Regions from separate parts of the Homo sapiens genome. Here region 2 is linked to region 1. Evidence: promoter capture Hi-C in 16 types of primary human blood cells and fetal thymus (Javierre and others, 2016). All regions are on one chromosome and are shown on one strand. Each heading gives the region's core, a stretch centred on a gene start or on the middle of the fragment in contact. The rest is flanking DNA. Distances are from core to core; before and after follow the strand shown.

Evidence for each region. Contacts are between HindIII fragments. The CHiCAGO score rates a contact against its expected background, and 5 or more counts as called.
Region 2: a fragment that was not itself captured here is called in contact with the fragment with the promoter of SLC15A2 in region 1 in 2 of 17 cell types (monocytes and total B cells); the score reaches 6.4 in monocytes.

The regions. Positions count from the first base shown.
Region 1 is chr3:121,891,427-121,897,111 of GRCh38, forward strand. It overlaps SLC15A2 (solute carrier family 15 member 2), which reads left to right and starts at 2,975. Exons shown (of 22, transcript NM_021082.4): 1 at 2,975-3,155; 2 at 4,980-5,067. The coding sequence starts at 3,051. RefSeq lists enhancers at 1,401-1,934, 1,935-2,467. The HindIII fragment of the contact is 13,918 bases long and covers 1-3,309 here.
Region 2 is chr3:122,120,378-122,126,426 of GRCh38, forward strand. CD86 (CD86 molecule) reads left to right here. Exons shown (of 7, transcript NM_175862.5): 7 at 1-759. Among named protein-coding and RNA genes, the nearest start is that of CASR, 60 kb to the right of the region's middle. The HindIII fragment of the contact is 3,590 bases long and covers 1,114-4,703 here.

The DNA of each region.
Region 1 (5,685 bases), core at 1,725-4,224:
TTTTAATTTCATATTTTCCTCTTCTCTCTGACTATATTAGATTCTATTAACTTAGAGCAGCAGTCTACTTTTGTGTATATATAACTAAAACTTTATCATATGTCATAATAAATGTTTTCTGATGTTGTAATCACTAAGGACACAAATATTCTTTACTCATCACTGATACTTAGATTCTTTCACTTTTATTGTTTGTCTCAGAATAGTTGGTGCTCATTTCTGTCTGGGAGGTGCTTTCTTTTTATCTCTTCTCTTTCTCCTTCTATCTGATGTTAGCAAAATAATAGGATTTAAGAGCCATCTTAATATTATATAAATGGCTCAAGACTATGCCTTGGGAGCCTAGGGTTCCAGTCCTTGCTTTGTCCCTTCTGAGTTCCTCTGAAATAGAATAGGAGAGAATTTATGACCAGTGTTTCCCAAATTCCTAGCGTAAGAATTGCTAGAGGTGCTCGTTGAAAACAAAGATTCTTAGATCCCTACCGAGATCTACTGAATTGGAATTTCCAAAGGAAAATGATTCTTATCCTCAGGGAAGTTTCACTCACATAGGACAAGATTAAGATTCCTTCCATCTCTGATATTATTCGATTCTGTGAATACTATCATTATACTGCCATAATCAAAAGAAGAATTTTGTCTAAACAAAGGAGTGTCAGAAAACCACTGCCAATACTCCAAAGTTTAGTATTTGGGATACCTATGAGCACAAATAAATTGGTACATTGCATACAGGTGCTATTCCATCTACTCTGCCAGATCAAGGAAAGCCACAACATAAGTGGATCTTCAAGGCATCTGTGCCTCTGCTAGTTAACTTGACTAGTAACTTCTGACCATTTATTTTCCAGCCAAAGTCATTAACCAAACCAATTCAGAAATGGCAGTGCTTCCTGAAAGAATAACTATACCTTAATTATTAATGCCACAGTCAGAAATGAAGCTGGACTCTTCTTTGGGTAAAGGTTGGTGGGAGACAGTAGAAATGAGGGGTGTAATAGAAGCTGAGAAGATATGGTCAAAGTCTGAGTTAAAGTTTAGAGAGGAAAAGACAGTTTATCCTGGCCCTATTTGTCAATAAATTATTTGAATAGTTAAAGTAAAAATTTTGTGAGGGATAGAGTTATAGGTTTTCTCTCTTGTATTTTCAAATAAAATAATTCATTCTGATGTTGCCTGACCTTGTTGATTTAGTCTTCATTTTTCTTATTTCTTTTATAGCTCTCTAGCCTTTCTTTTCCCTTTTCTTTTGACAAACAACTAGAGGGGCACCATGCTCTTTTCTTATCCTTTTACTTCTTTGGCTTGACAAAAATAACACAGCATAAAATGCACCTAGCATTATGATGTTTGTTCTTGTTCCTCTTCTGATAAGGACTAAATGTATAATTAAGGAAAATGGTGTTCACAACAGTACCTAGAAAGTAACTGGTTCACAATTTTTGCTCAAATTAAATTTTATTTATTAAATGAAAGAATAGATTAATCTTGAAGTGAGAAAATGAAAATATAAGGAGTGACTTTAGCAAAGAAGAACAATGGTTCCCAAATGTATATCACCAATCCTTTTCTCTCATTTTCTTTAGCCCCACCTCTTTAATTGCTTATAGGCTATTTCTAGCTGAACTTTTATGATGTTGAAAACAAAAGTCTCCTTCCTTCCTTCCTTTCTTTTCTTTTCTTTCTTTCCTTTCTTTCCCTTCTTTTCTTTCTTTCTTTCCTTTCTTTCCCTTCTTTTCTTTCTTTCTTTCAAGTCTTGCTCCGTCGCCCAGGCTGGAGTGCAGTGGTGGGGTCTCGGCTCACTGCAACCTCTGCCTCTTGGGTTCAAACGATTCTCCTGCCTCAGCCTCCTGAGTAGCTGGGACTACAGGCGCGTGCCACCACACCCAGCTAATTTTTGTATTTTTAGTAGAGATGGGGTTTCACTATGTTGGCCAGGCTAATCTTGAACTCCTGAGCTGTGATCAGCCCACCTCGGCCTCCCAAAGTGTTGGGATTACAGGCGTAAGCCTCTGCACCCAGCCAAAACTCACCATCTTTCTTATCTTCCAAACTCAGTTTTATGATGACTTTCCTTCTCCAATGCATTTTAATCCTCTGCATTCCTACATTCCATTTATGTAACCTCCATACCTGAATAATGACTGACACTAACTCCACTTTTCCCAGCTGTCATGGCATAGTGAAAATTCCAGATCTGCCACTTAGTGGACAGGTACTTTGAACAAATTTCTTAACCTCTGGGAACATTACTTTCTATAAAATGGGGATAGTAATATGAATTAGAATAAATATATATGTTATAGATATACAACATAGATGTAATTCATATATATTAACCTTTCAATAGTAGATGTTCAATAAATTACAGCTATTGTTACCCTGAAATCAGTTTTTCTTTTTTTTTTTTTTTGGAAATGGAGTTTCGCTCTTGTTGCCCAGGCTGGAGTGCAATGGTGCAATCTCAGCTCACCGCAACCTCCGCCTCCCAGGTTCAAGTGATTCTTCTGCCTTAGCCTCCTGAGTAGCTGGGATTATAGGCGCCCGCCACCACACCCAGCTAATTTTTTTTTTGTATTTTTAGTAGAGACGGGGTTTCACCATGTGGGCCAGGCTGCTGACCTAAAACGATCCGCCTGCCTGGGCCTTCCAAAGTGCTAGGATTATATGCGTGAACCACCGCGCCTGACCATGGAATCAGTTTTTCAATCTGTGCTCGAGGTGTTGTGTTCTTAACTATCTTCTACTCCTTTGCAAAGATAATCTTTCTTAAACATAGACTTTCTAATCAGTTCTCTAGCATTGTTTCATTCTGTCTTTGGCATGTTTTCACTTTGCTGTGCTGTACTTTTACACATTCTTTTTAACTATAGCTTCCTGCTTTGCTCTGGATCAGGAAGCTATTGAAGCTGACACCCACAGAGTTAAACTGAGTTGCTGAAGCCACCAGCTCCCCCTCCCAGTCCTTCTTTTCAGAGTAGGCTGGCAGCTGTCCTAACTGCCTACTAAAGCCAAATGCTTGAGGAGAGAGAGAGAGTAAGGAGCCAGCCATGAATCCTTTCCAGAAAAATGAGTCCAAGGAAACTCTTTTTTCACCTGTCTCCATTGAAGAGGTACCACCTCGACCACCTAGCCCTCCAAAGAAGCCATCTCCGGTGAGTCCTTAGATTCAATCCTGCCTCTGAGAGGAATGGCCTCCCTCTTTTGGCTCTCTTCCTTGGGCTCTGGAGCTTCCAGCTGAGCTGTATTAGGGTATTAAAATGCTTCTCTCTTGGATTTAGAATTCACCTGAAACCAAATCTAAACAGAAGCTTCCTTTACATAAGAAGACAAAGCAGCAGGAAGAGGTAGTCAAAGTTCTTCAGTTGGGATCCAGGGACTTGCTGAATTTCATTGCATATTCTGTTTCCCTGGGGGAAAAAAGCAATTCGAATGTCCAGGGAAACTTGGCAAGCATTCTTGTCTGAAGAACTGTGTGTGATTGTTCTTTCTTTACCAATATAAAAACTCTGCCCTTAGTTCTCCCTGTGTGCAGAGTCTTCTGCTGAACACCAATGGAAGTTTCAGAATAGATCCAATTTCTGTTACTATGTGTTCCCAGTTTACTGTGGGAGATAGGACAGAGAAACAGAGAATAGTAATGTTTTGCATTTATATACTCGCTAAAGCACTTCTAAACTCATCATCTCAGTCAATTCTTACACTAAAATTCTGTAAGTGGGGAGGATATAGTAATGATAGCCAAAATTTACTGAGTTCTTACAGTGGGCCAAAAGGTGATGTTATTCTCATTTCTTTGGAATAACAGAACAGAGGTTTTGAGACAGGTGTAGTGACAATGCCAGTATCAGTATGTTAACACAGCCAGTGGCAGTGTTGCCTAACTAGCTAACAGTGTGTCGGCTAAACTCCAGATTGCATAATTCTCAAGCTGTGAGCTGCAAAGGTAAGAAGCCCAGTTCATTGTATGTTTCAAACAAGCTATTATAAAACATTAAAATATATTAATATTTAGGAGGATCATTTATATATATCCCTAGGGTTAAAAGAATAATACATTACTTTATTATTTTGCCTATTTTTTTAGTTAATGATATCTCTTCTGGTCCCAAAGAATTTAGGGCTACTTGCAAAGATGTATATACTTCTCATGAAATGAGGCAATATAAATCTTACAAGATTTGACTGTACTGAGGACAGATACCTCTATGTCTCTTCTCATGTTAGTTGGTCTATTGTAATAGATAGGGAATTAAAATAAAACATAACATTCCTTATATTCTGACTGATATATTACATGAAAAGCATAATTCTTTTAATGTCCAGTAGGATTATCATGAAAATGTTATAGAATCTCTTTAGTAGGAAGAGTAGACATTTAATTTTACAGGATTTAAGAACTCTGCCTAAAGTCAAGGTGATCAATTAGCTTACCCTTAGGAATCTCTGTCCTCCATGTTGGGCTCTGTGCCTGACTCCAGCAGCCTCTGAAGTAGAAGCTATCATATTGCCAGGATTCCTCCCAGCATGGCAAACAGAACAGCTGGGGACAAGAGTCCCCATAGTGGGGCTAAGCAGAGACTGACATCTGAATCTCACTGCTTGGATATCAGGTATTCCATAGGCTACCTCTTTATTCTGTTCCTAGGAAGTAAATATCACCATTCTTCTGCCCCAGAGCCCTAGGCTTTTCATTTAGTAGTTGTGGGAAGATGAGCAGGTCCAAGGAATATTTGAGCAAGTCCATGTAAAATAAATAAGAAACAAAATAATATTCAGAGTAGCTTCTATTATTTCTAAATCAGTAATATAAGCACTTTTAGTGTTACCTAATAGGTGTGTCATGAAGAGTAGAGACCATTGCTCCATTACCTACCAAGATGATTTGAAATAAATGAATTTTTCAGTTTTGAAGAAATCTAATTGTTGAAACAGGGAAAAACAGCTCATGCTTGAATCATTGCCTTCTTGTTGAATAGACAATCTGTGGCTCCAACTATCCACTGAGCATTGCCTTCATTGTGGTGAATGAATTCTGCGAGCGCTTTTCCTATTATGGAATGAAAGGTAATTTTGTGTCCAAGAGTCCTACCTACTCTCCTCCACCCACCCTCACCCCATGTTTGTGACAGCCTGGTCTCTTTATATGCACTTATTTCCCGAGTCCACTCTTTCTGCCTTGGTCCAAATTGGTCCTTTACTTTGGCCAAGACTTCCAATAAATCTCTCATAGGATTTCACCTAATATGTAGGCCAAGATCAGAAAGGCCTGAGACAAACCAGAACATAGACTTTGAGAATGGGTAAGTGGGTGGAGCTGGGCATGATGGCATGTGCCTGTAGTCGCCACTACTTGGGAGGCTGAAGCAGGAGGATTGCTTGGGCCCAGGAGTTCAAGGTTATCAGGCACCTGTAATTGTGCCAGTGAATGGCCACTGCACTCCAGCCTGGGCAACATAGCAAGAACTCATCTCCAAAAAAAAAAAAAAAAAAGGGGGGGGAGGGAAAGCTCTCATTATCTCAGTTACATTTTTCATACCTGTTCCTCAGGTATGAGCTAACAGCTCTTGGCTAAGGGCTCATACCTGAGGAACAGGTATGAAGAATGGAATTCAGATAAGAGGTCTTATCATCTTGTTGCTGGGAAGGAGAGGAGAGGGAAGGGATATTGGAAGCACCATGTTA
Region 2 (6,049 bases), core at 1,659-4,158, 230 kb after region 1:
GAGATCACAATACTCAAAAGAGAGAGAGAGAGAAAAAAGAGAGATCTTGATCCACAGAAATACATGAAATGTCTGGTCTGTCCACCCCATCAACAAGTCTTGAAACAAGCAACAGATGGATAGTCTGTCCAAATGGACATAAGACAGACAGCAGTTTCCCTGGTGGTCAGGGAGGGGTTTTGGTGATACCCAAGTTATTGGGATGTCATCTTCCTGGAAGCAGAGCTGGGGAGGGAGAGCCATCACCTTGATAATGGGATGAATGGAAGGAGGCTTAGGACTTTCCACTCCTGGCTGAGAGAGGAAGAGCTGCAACGGAATTAGGAAGACCAAGACACAGATCACCCGGGGCTTACTTAGCCTACAGATGTCCTACGGGAACGTGGGCTGGCCCAGCATAGGGCTAGCAAATTTGAGTTGGATGATTGTTTTTGCTCAAGGCAACCAGAGGAAACTTGCATACAGAGACAGATATACTGGGAGAAATGACTTTGAAAACCTGGCTCTAAGGTGGGATCACTAAGGGATGGGGCAGTCTCTGCCCAAACATAAAGAGAACTCTGGGGAGCCTGAGCCACAAAAATGTTCCTTTATTTTATGTAAACCCTCAAGGGTTATAGACTGCCATGCTAGACAAGCTTGTCCATGTAATATTCCCATGTTTTTACCCTGCCCCTGCCTTGATTAGACTCCTAGCACCTGGCTAGTTTCTAACATGTTTTGTGCAGCACAGTTTTTAATAAATGCTTGTTACATTCATTTAAAAGTCTACATTTTCTGCTTTGGCTTCAAGAGTACTACTCAACCCTTGTGGTCTGATGTTCCCTGCTCTGTCCTCTGAATGTACTTCCTTTCTCTTTACATCTCTATGGCTAGAAGCCTCTCACGCATCCTGTATCTTCTCCTCCTCCCTTTTCCCTACCATTATTTGAGAAAGGAGGCTTGTATACTTCTATATGTTTATCTCAGTAATAAGTCATAAAAAATCAAGTAAGAATGGTTGTTTTTGAGGACAACTAAGAAATCTGGAATAAGGAAGGGAAGCTTACTTTTGAGTTTGTAACCTGTAGTGTGTAATTTTTTAATTATGTACTTACATGTACATTAAACAAAAGCTTAATGTAAAAATATTCCTTGAAAACACCATGATTATAAAATAAATGCATATATACACATACAGCATGTGAGAGGAGCCAGGAAAACTCTGGAAAAAAGAAAATTACCTAGACTCTGTGAGGGCAGGAATGTGTTTAATTTCTCTCCAATGGATCCTCAGACAACTAAGATAGTTGTCTATTCTATTGTCCATCTTTTTGTCTTTTGTTGTATTTCTTAAAGATTCCCTCAACTTTATCTTCTAACTTCTGTTGTATTTTTATTTCTGCTATCATGTATTCTTTTCAGAATTCTTTTTTGTTCTCTCAAAACATATCTGTTTAAAGATTGAATGAAATATTAACATGCCCTTTGGTGAGAACATCCCTCCTTTGTATATTAAATTCTCTGAACTGCTGTATTCTAAGACTAGGGGAAAGAAAAAGAAGGTTGAAAGAGGTCATTAGGCAGAATAGTACTAGCTAACATTATTTCACATTTACCATATACCCGTCACTCATCTAAACCTTTAAACTCATTATCCTATTTAATCCTCACAATGACCCTGTGACGTAGGTAATGGAATATTATGCCCATTATGCTGATGAGAAAATATAAACACAGAGATAAGTCAGAGTAATTTACCCAACATTGTTAACTTTGTAAGTGGCAGAGCTTTGTAACAGGCAGAGGTTGGAACAGTTTGGAGGGCTCAGAAGAAGACAGGAAGATGTAGGAAAGTTTGGAACTTCCCAGAGCCTTGTTGAATGGCTTTGACCAAAATGCTGATAGTAATATGGACAATGAAATACAGGCTGAGGTGGTCTCAGATAGAGAAGAGGAACTTGTTGGGAACTGGAATAAAGGTGACTCTTGCTATGTTTTAGCAAAGACACTGGTGGCATTTTGCCCCTGCCCTAGAGATTTGTGGGACTTTGAACTTGAGAGAGATGATTTAGGGTATCTGGTGGAAGAAATTTCTAAGCAGCAAAGCATTCAAGATGTAACTTTCGTGCTGTTAAAAGCATTCAGTTTTATGTATTCCCAAAAATATGGTTTGGAATTGGAACTTATGTTTAAAAGTTTGGAAAATTTGCAGCCTGACAATGTGATAGAAAAGAAAACCCATTTTCTGAGGAGAAATTCAAGCCAGCTGCAGAAATTTGCATAAGTAACAAGGAGCCAAATGTTAATTGCCAAGATAATGGGAAAATGTCTCCAGGCCATGTCAGAACTCTTTACAGCAGCCCTTCTCATCACAGGCCAAGAGGCCTAGGAGGGAAAAACGGTTTCCTGGCCAGGCCCGAGGCCTTGCTGCTTTGTGCAGTTTTGGGACTTGGTGCCCTGCATCCCAGCCATGGCTAAAAGAGGCCAAGATACAGTTCAGGTCATGGCTTCAGAGGGTGCAAGCCCCAAGGCTTGGCAGCTTCAGCACAGTGAACCTGCAGGTGCACACAAGTCAAGAATTGAGGTTTGGGAACATCCCCGTAGATTTCAGAGGATGTATGGGAACACCTGGATGTCCAGGCAGAAGTTTGCTGCAGGGGTAGAGCTCTCATGGAGAACCTCTGCAAGGGCAGTGCAGCAGGGAAATGTGGGGTTGGAGCCCCCACACAGAGTCCCCACTGGGGCACTGCCTAGTGGAGCTATGAGAAGAGGGCCACCATCATCCAGACCCCAGAATTGTAGGTCCACCAACCATGCGCCTGGAAAAGTCACCGACACTCAATGCCAACCCATGAAGGAAGTCAGGAGGGGGCTGTACCCTGCAAAGCCAAAGAGGCCAAGCTGCCCAAGGCCATGGGAGCCCACCTCTTGCATCAGCATGACCTGGATGTGAGAGATGGAGACAAAAGAGAGATCATTTTGGAGCTTTAAGATTTCACTGCCCCACTGGATTTTGGACTTGCATGGGGCCTGTAGCCCCTTTGTTTTGGCAAATTTCTCCCATTTGGAATGGGTATATTTACCCAATGCCTGTACCCCCATTGTATCTAGGAAGTTACTAACTTTCTTTTGATTTTACAGGCTCATAGGCGGAAGGTGCTTGCCTTGTCTCAGATGAGACTTTGGACTTGGGACTTTTGGGTTAATGCTGGAATGAGTTAAGACTTTGGGGGACTGTTGGAAAGGCATGATTGTATTTTGAAATGTAAGGACATGAGATTTGGGAGGAGCCAGGGGTGAAATTATATGGTTTGGCTGTGTCCCCATCCAAATCTCATCTTGAATTGTAGTTCCCATAATCTCCACGTGTTGTGGGAGGGACCCAGTGGGAGGTAATTGAATCATGTGGGCAGTTACCCCCATGCTGCTGTTCTCATGATAGTGAGTGAGTTCTCATGAGATGTGATGGTTTTATAAGAGGCTTTTCTGCCTTTTGCTTGGCATTTCTCCTTCCTATCATCCTGTGAAAGAGGATATGTTTGCTTCCCCTTCCACCATGATTTAAGTTTCCTGAGGCCTCATCAGCCCTGCTGAACTGTGAGTCAATTAAACCTCCTTCCTTTATAAATTAACCAGTCTTGGGTGTGTCTTTATTAGCAGTGTGAGAAGGAACAAATACATTAACCCAGGCTTGAAAGCAAAGAGTCATCTCTGATGACTGCATTCAACCTTTCCCTCAGCACCCACTGCTCACCCCTTCGCTCCTGCCTCATTCTGTTATCAGTCATCACTAGGCCAGGAAAGCATTCCTCCCACTTTCACACCCACCTCTTATTTTCTCATTCAGGACCTTTTTTATTCATACCAAAAACATGTCAGTCACCTCCCAACTGATCCCAGTCTCCTATCTCTCTTACCCTTCATTCTGTCCAACACACCAAGAGAAACAAGAAGGTAAATAGTGAAAAGGTCTCCCTCACATTCCCTTTCCCTAGCCACACAACTCTGATCTCCAGCTTCCTGGGTATCCATTCGTAGTCACAGTATGCCTATTTTTAAGTGTGTGTACACACACATACACATATTCCCCTTACTCAGGCAGATTTGGTTTTACTTTACACTACAGTCTAAAGAAATCAGAATACTCTTGCTAGGATGATTGACATCAGTCTTCAGTGTAATCCTTCATATTAAAAACATACATCTGTATGTATAAGTTTTCATTCTCACCAATATTCTAGCATCATTGTGGATCTTATAATAAAAGTGAGATTCCATTGGATTTTATTATGTCTACCTGTTCACTTCAGAAGAAAAGATACTTACAGATATAGAATCCTTCACTGTCCTTAGTCACAAAGTTTAAAACCTGCTCCAATCTGAACAAGTTACACCCTAGGTCTGGTGAGCAACAGTTACCCTGAAGGGATCTCCCAATTCCTATGTCCATATAGTTGTCTTTCTTGATTTACCCCCTCACTTTGGTGGTGCATATCCTTCAGTAGCTTGATCCAGCAGCTTTCTGAGAAAGGATCTGTGGGAAATATATTTAATGAAATTTTATGTATCTGAAAATGTCTTTATCTTACTTTCCTGCTTAACTATTAATAATTTTGCTTGGTATAAAAATTTGGGTTGGAAATTATTTTCATTGTCCATAGTTTCCAGTGTTGCTCTTGAGAAATCTACAAATATTCTGACTCCTTATCTTTTTACATGAAAGCTTTTAGAATCTGCTCAGTGTTCTAAGATTTTGTCATGAAATGCCTGTTTGTCCATTGTGATTAACACTCAGATGGACTTTTCTTCTGGAAACTCATGTCCTTTCCTCCAGGGAAATTTTCCTGAATTATTTCATTGATTATTTTTCCCCTCTATTTCACTAGTCTCTCATTTTAGAATGTCAGATTCCTGAATGTTGAATCTCCTAGACTGATCCTCCAATTTTGTTATTTTCTCTCCTGTTGCCCATATTTTGTTTTTTGTTCCATTTCCTAGAGATTTTCTCAAGTTTATCTTCCAGCCTTTCTGTTGTACTTTTTACTTCTGCTATCATGTTTTATTTTCAGAGCTCCTTTTTGTTTTCTGAATGTTTCTTTTTGCAAGGAGCCTGTTCCTAATGGTTGAAATATTATCTCTTAACTCTCTTAGGATATTAACGATTAGGTTGTTTGTTTTTAAAGTTTTATATTCCAAGTTATTTCTTCCTGTTTGTTTGCTTTGATCTATATCATCCATGTTAAAGGATTCCCAGCTGTCTGATGATACTTGACTGTCTGTTCACAATTAAGAGTGAAAAACTAAAAGTTTGGAGGATCTGAGTTTATGGATGGGTTTGTCAACTTTAGCTTCATGGTAGAGGGATCTGGAGCAAGACATTTTTAGGAAATCATTTTTAGATCTTCTTTTTTGAGCTGGTAATTTTTCAGTATCTTGCTTGGAAGGTAGAGGTATAGCTGCTAGTATTTTGGGAGCCAAGTGAGAGAAGAGGGGTGGGTGTGAGTAGTGATGGAACCTCTGCATTCCTTATTCAGTATGCATAAATGTACTTACTCCATGTGTTTTTAGTACGATAGCCCTATCGTACTTGTAGCATGTGGCAAAGTGGTTTCTCTTCCCGTGACCTGATTATAACATTGATTCAGATTAAACATTGTGAACTCAGTTTCCTAAATATACCAAGTACAAAGTAAAAGTCACTAAATTGTCCTAACAGTCTACTAGAAATGGAAGAAATTCAGAAAGCAATGAGGAGAACCTTCCCATTGTATGTGGTACATGAGGGCAGAGAAGGGAGTAATTCACCCAACACCAAAAAGAGCCATGACCAGAACTCAGGTTCCTGATTTTTCAGTCCAGGGTTCTTCCCACCCCACTGTGCCCCTCTAAACTTCTTGTTAACTGGAAGAGCTGGAAAATGGGTGTCAACAGAGCATAATGAAGGAAGATCATGGACTTTAGGTCAGATAGACCTGACACCACTACACTTGACTGTGTGACCTTGGGCTAATTACTTAATCTCTGATTTTCAGTTTTCTTATTTGTAAAATAGGGATAATAATATCTA